Regions from separate parts of the Homo sapiens genome. Here region 1 is linked to region 2. The links are contacts of gene promoters, found by promoter capture Hi-C in human tissues and cell types (Jung and others, 2019). All regions are on one chromosome and are shown on one strand. Each heading gives the region's core, a stretch centred on a gene start or on the middle of the fragment in contact. The rest is flanking DNA. Distances are from core to core; before and after follow the strand shown. Region 1 overlaps ZNF670 (zinc finger protein 670). Region 2 holds the start of ZNF670 (zinc finger protein 670).

Evidence for each region. Contacts are between HindIII fragments. The study calls those that stand out against the background at their distance.
Region 1: a fragment that was not itself captured here is called in contact with the fragment with the promoter of ZNF670 in region 2 in 2 of the 25 tissues and cell types used here (neural progenitor cells and thymus).

The regions. Positions count from the first base shown.
Region 1 is chr1:247,039,341-247,042,296 of GRCh38, reverse strand. It overlaps ZNF670 (zinc finger protein 670), which reads left to right. Exons shown (of 4, transcript NM_033213.5): 2 at 2,760-2,886. All of the region lies in intron 1 of ZNF670-ZNF695 (ZNF670-ZNF695 readthrough (NMD candidate)), which reads left to right. Among named protein-coding and RNA genes, the nearest start is that of ZNF695, 33 kb to the right of the region's middle. The HindIII fragment of the contact is 4,338 bases long and covers 1-2,956 here.
Region 2 is chr1:247,077,199-247,080,252 of GRCh38, reverse strand. ZNF670 (zinc finger protein 670) reads left to right here and starts at 1,442. Exons shown (of 4, transcript NM_033213.5): 1 at 1,442-1,659. The coding sequence starts at 1,657. It overlaps ZNF670-ZNF695 (ZNF670-ZNF695 readthrough (NMD candidate)), which reads left to right and starts at 1,442. Exons shown (of 7, transcript NR_037894.2): 1 at 1,442-1,659. RefSeq lists silencers at 1,408-1,477, 1,266-1,579. The HindIII fragment of the contact is 11,562 bases long and covers 1-3,054 here.

The DNA.
Region 1 (2,956 bases), core at 54-2,553, 38 kb after region 2:
AATCGGTTCTGCCGCCTGGTATCTGGTGTGTACTTTAGCTGCTTGCTGAGCAACTAGCACTGTGAGCTGTGCTGCTCAATTTACTTATTTCTGTGAAATCTGTAAATCACGACTCAGATCACGTTATAAGGCAAAGAAACATAAAAATTGTGTTCTTTTACATTTTAATTAATTTTTAAGTTTTCTATTAAGAAATACAGTAAGAATGAGTAAAACATTTGTCAAGAGTTTTAGTAACAATAGTTGAAGCAACTTGGAAATTATAATTAAGATTCTTAACTGGGCCTCCTACAGTCATTAAGAGTTTTCTGATGGTTCCCACCTAGACTTATCTCTTAGTTGACCACTGTTGTGATTGTTTGGCTACTTTTTTGCATTTTTATCATCTGTAATTTTTCAGTTCCATTTTGCTTTACTTGAACTTTCTAAAATGAGTATGAATGGAATTAAAACAAAAAGGTTTATTGGTGATTTCCTTGTGTCAGTATGTTTCACACATGCTAGTGCCTGAGGCTGTGGACCATTTAATTCAGCCGTCCATTTTAATGATTCTGATGTGAGGGCTTTTTCAATTGTATTTTTTTGCTTTTGGGAAAAATAATGCTCCTATGATTTTATGCCACATCTCCAAGTGCAAATGCACCGTAAATTCTCTGGACATTTTAGAAAAATTAATGGGCTACACATTGTGGTAAGTTCAAATTAGAGCAATGGAGGGTATCAGTTGACTCCTCCTTCCTTCGTGAGTAACCCGTTTGCCATGGCCGTCATCACATGGAGTTGATTTTTTTCTTCTAGTCAATTTCAAATGTCATATACCTGACTATTTTCTATTTTCTCATTACCAAGGAAGTTGACTTTTTAAAAAAATAGGTGGTCTTTCATCTTCTTTTAAGTATGCTTTGCTTATTTTCTCACTTTTAAATCGTGTTCATTTTTACACTTCATACTAATTCTTTTATATTGCATGTATTACAGTTTTTTCCCACTGCTTTTTGCCTTTTAATTTCCTGAATATTAATATATGTGAATTTGCCAGTTCCTTTTTTTCTGTTTAAATGAATTCTGCCCATTTTTCTGTCCAAAAATACCCCTGTTTTCCTTCGAAGTCTGAACGTATTTTAGTTTTGTCTTTCATATTTGAAATAAAGAACTTGATTATTGTTCATGGAATAGAGGGGAATGCAATGTACTTTTTCAGTTAGTACCAATTTGCTCTACTGTATGTTTTAAAGTGCTTTTGATTTCTTCCACTATTCTGGAATGCTCTGTCATTAATGAACTTTACATACAAAATTCCTGCTTACAGGCCAGGCACAGTGGCTTGTAAGCCCAGCACTTTGGGAGGCCAAGGCAGGCAGATTACCTGAGGTCAGGAGTTCAAGATCAGCCTGGGCAACATGGTGAAACCCTGTCTCTACTAAAAATACAAAATCAGCTGGGCGTGGTGACACATGCCTGTAATCTCAGCTACTCGGGAGGCTGAGGCAGGAGAATCGCTTGAACCTGGGAGGCAGCGGAGGATGTGGTGAGCCGAGATCACGCCATTGCACTCCAGCCCGGGCAACAAGAGTAAATCTCCATCTCACCAAAAAAATAAAATAAAAAAATAAAATAAAAATAAATTCCTGCTTATTTAAAACTTTTTTCCCTTTTGGACTATTTGTTTATCTCCACATTAATACTGTCCTGAATATTATAGTTTGAAAATTCTGATACATGGTAAGGAAGCCATTGCCCTATTGTTTGGAAGACTTTGACAATTCTTAGACATTTTTTTTTTGTTAGGTTTGGAAAAGTAGTTTTCAGTTGCTAATAAAGTGTCTGTTTTGGGGATTGATGGAATTTTTTAAGGCTATTTGAAAGAGGTGATATCTTGATGACATTGAGTTTCTTCTAAGCACACGTACTATCTTTCCACTTACTCCATTGCACTTTGTTGTTATCCAATAGAAATTTTAAAATTGTTTTGTTTGTTATTAAAGATAAATTATCAGTCTTATTTACAACTGGGTTTAATTTGGTCTGGAGTAAACTACTTGCAAGCTTCCAAATATTTTCTTATTATAATCACGTTGATGCCTCATTTCTCCAGTTAACAAGTTGTAACAGCATATGAGAAATATTGTTTACCAAGAATGCTCATTAGAGACTTAATGCTCAGAGTGTTTTTCAGAGCTGATCCCCTAGGTACCACTGCAAGAATGGAGTAAAGTAGTAGGCTTTCAGAAACAAAACAAAACTGGAGTTCAGCGAATAATATATTGTTTGCATAAGATTGTTTACATATTGTGAACCACTCACTTAGGGTGATGAGATCCGTCAAAAAAATCTATTTTCTCACACCAAAAGGTCAGACTTTGTGAGCAGGTATTTCTAAGGATATGTAGTCTTAAGACTTAATACTAACTGTTATACACAACAAATAGCATGACTTCGTTATGAGAGGCCCTTAAGATAAAATCTACACATAGAAATTAGGGGTGACCTCATTTCTTACAGCACAGTTTATTCCCTGCACCTGCCAATGAGACAGGTGTTCCTACTCTGCTGTTGACTTTCTGAATAGTTTCATTTTAGCATGAAGAATGTTGAGTGGGCAGCAGTAAGTGCAGACAGAGAGTAAAGTTCTGATGACCAGGTCATGGAAGAAATGTTTGAAGTCTGCAGAATTATGTTACGATTTTATGAGATGAGTATAGATTCTTAGTACTGTCTGTCTAAGCCATCCTCCTCTCCACATATGTGCGATATTCTAGGATTCAGTGTCATTTGAAGATGTGGCTGTGGCCTTTACTCAGGAGGAGTGGGCTTTGCTGGATCCTTCTCAAAAGAATCTCTACAGAGATGTGATGCAAGAAATCTTCAGGAACCTGGCTTCTGTAGGTAAGAATAACAACACTTATTCACGTAGTTGATTACAACGCAAGTGTTTTGGCTGGGCGTGGTGGCTCAC
Region 2 (3,054 bases), core at 193-2,692:
AGTGTATGGAATCTCATTAAATACACAAAAAATAAGGTTAGAAAAAAGTCACTCACATTTTTTTTGTTTGCTGAGGCCACGCCGTCATTGTTATGACAATTGATTAAAGGGAGAATCAAGCTTTTATTCTTCCTTTCCTAATAGGGTAGGTTTTAATGTAATGGAGAGAGTTCATGAGAAAACGCCATTTTTAATAGAAGAATGAGAACTAATACCTGTAGAGAAAATAATTAGAAAACCACTATTTGGCAACTCTCACTGAGATAAGTGAAATTAAGAAATAGTAATCAATAAATAATGAACAGTTACATGAAAGGAACAGGCAGACATTCCCGAACAACCTTAAAATAAAGTGGTAAAACCAGACACGTGTATCCAAATGTGCAGGCTGAATTGAAACATGCTGGAAGCTTAATATATAGAGTGATTTTTCATTAATAATATATCGATTGTAAGGCCGTCTGAGCAGGCTGCGCCATGGTCAAGCCATTGTGATCCCTGTGACCCACACGTGTACATCCAGAAGGTCCTGGAGCCAGAAAGTCTGGGACAACAGGAAAACCACAAAGGAAGAAAAACGGCTAGTTTCTGTCTTAGCTGATTAGCCAACCTTGCAGCATTTTACCGTTGTGACGTGCACTACCCTAACTGATCAATCAGCCTAGTGACACTGTGACCCCTCCCTCTTGTGACAATGTACTTTGTGACATTCTTCCCCCGCCGGTAATAAACGGCCCCTGACTGTAACTTTCCACTGCTTACCCCTCACCTATAAAACTAACTCCAATCCCACGACCCTCCGCTGACCCTCTTTTCGGACTCAGCCCGCTCGCACCCGAGTGAGTAAACTAGCCTTGCTGCTCACACTTAACCTGTTTGGGTAGTCTCTTCAATTAGGCGCGAGCTTAACATCGATCATATATTGAAACAATATTTTTGGATATATTTGGTTAAATAAATCATTGTAATCAATTTCACGTGTTGTTTTCTTTTCTATTGCTACTGGAACACACGCGGCTCACATTTTATTTCTATGGGGCGTTGCTACCTGAGAGGACATTGTCTTTTCAAAATTCAAGCTGCCTCTAATCCCACTAGAAGCAAGAAAAAAAAAAAAATTCAGGCTGCCTCCTCAAAAGACCAGAGGCCAGGAAGGTTGTGAAATCTGAAATTTTAGAATAATTGTCATCATAGTGTTTCCAATTGTAAATATCACAAATATTACTCATAAATGGACATAATCCTGTGTATGAGCTTGAATGGGAAAGTCCCCCGGGGGGCGCCAGGTCTCAGCACAGGGCAGAATCCATGCCTTAGAAAAGGACTGCAGGGAAAGAACCTGGCCTCACTCAGCGCCGTGTCTGATTGCATCTCCCGTCACTCAGGACTGAAGGGGCGGGGCCTAAGGCCCTGTCCAATCGGGCGCTGGGAAGGGGACTGTACTCTCAAGCGCGCCGCGAAAGGAGGGAGCAGCTTCCGGGACCTGGCGCGGCTTTTGTGTTGGGCAGCGCGAATGTGGCGAGCTCGGTGCGTCTCCGCTGCTCCTTCCCCTTATCCCTGGGAGGTCCAAGTGGTCCCGCGGCAGCTTCTGTTGCTCTGGGACCTGCAGGTCCCGGAAGGTCCTTAGGGAGGACCCCAGACACCGGAGACTGGGAAATGGTGAGTGTGCCGGCCAGGTGTCTCGGGAAGGGGAAAAGGGAACCGCCAGGAAGCGGTTGTGGCGAACCCGGACCTCCCCGCGGTGCCGACCCGAGTTTCCGCCGGCGCCTCGCGGCCTTAGTGGCACAGGATGCGGGGCTGGACCCGCAGCCAGACCCCGGGCCGCCTGGCTTGTCCCTGCCCCGCCGCTTCGGCCAGGCCCGGAACCCTTTCTGGGCAGCTCTGCCTCTGTAGACCCGCATCTCCCTCGGATCGTGCGGTGCCGACGGGAGGGTCCTCAGGGGAGAGTCCCGACTTGGGGTTCGGGGTTCCTGCGTGGGAGGAGCTGTGGTCTGTGAAGTCTCCAAATCCTCCTTTCTCCTGTTAGAAAGAAAACTGAGGCGCCGTTAAAATATTAAGGAGTTTATTTGAGCAGAGAGTCGTGAGTTAGGAAGCCACCAGCGTGGTTTGTGGTTTGGGGAAGGAAAGGGTTTTTTGTAAGGAACCCGAGGAAGCAAACCCAATTAAATAATTGATCGTGTACAGTTATGTAGTCACCCCATATAGACTGTGCAGCCAGATATCTCCTGGTTATGTAACCAGAGGTTAATTGGTGGGTTCGTGGTTGTTTAAGGCTGTTTTGTTTCCCTTTAAGTTATTAATTTACAAGACAAGCATGAGTTACGTTTTGGTTGGTTGTTTATTCATTCATGTGTGTATGTACATGTGTATGATGGAGTCTTGGACTCGGGCTCAAGCGATCCCCCCACCTCAGTCTCCCTAGTGCCTGTGTTTAATTATTTTCACATAACACTCCACATTTCTAAGTGTATGGCAACAGGATCTCACATCAACGACCCTGTTCCCACAGCCTAACTCTTCTGGGGCTTGTAGTAAAACCCTAAATTTCCAATTCTTTTCCTATATTCAAATGCAACATTATCAAGTATTTGTCTTTTATTGTACATTTCATACAGATGAAGTGTGTTATTTTTTTCAGAGTAGTGAGTCGTTCTGAAAATATTTGTTTTCACTCTTAAAATATTTCTGAACATTACACATGAGTGGAAAGCAGAAAATAATCACCTGACAGTTAATTGTAGAAAAAAAAAGTCTTTGTGCATCTCCTAATTTTATCTTTTTTGAGTGTGCACATCTTACCAGAGTATCTTTGGGGTGAAGTTCCCTTTTGGAAACTTTAGAGGGTGATATGTCCTCAGCCACCCTTATATCTTTTCTTGGTCCTCTGTTTAGCAGCCAGATCTCTTGGAGTGTCTAATGAATACCTTCTCCTGGGTCATCTCCTCACAGAGGACAGTTTAAAATATGGAAGTAGAGCCTCTCCAGGCAGCATCTGGGTGCCCTGGAGTTGAGAGACGTCTCCTAGTATACTCTTCGTTTAAAAAACAAATCCCT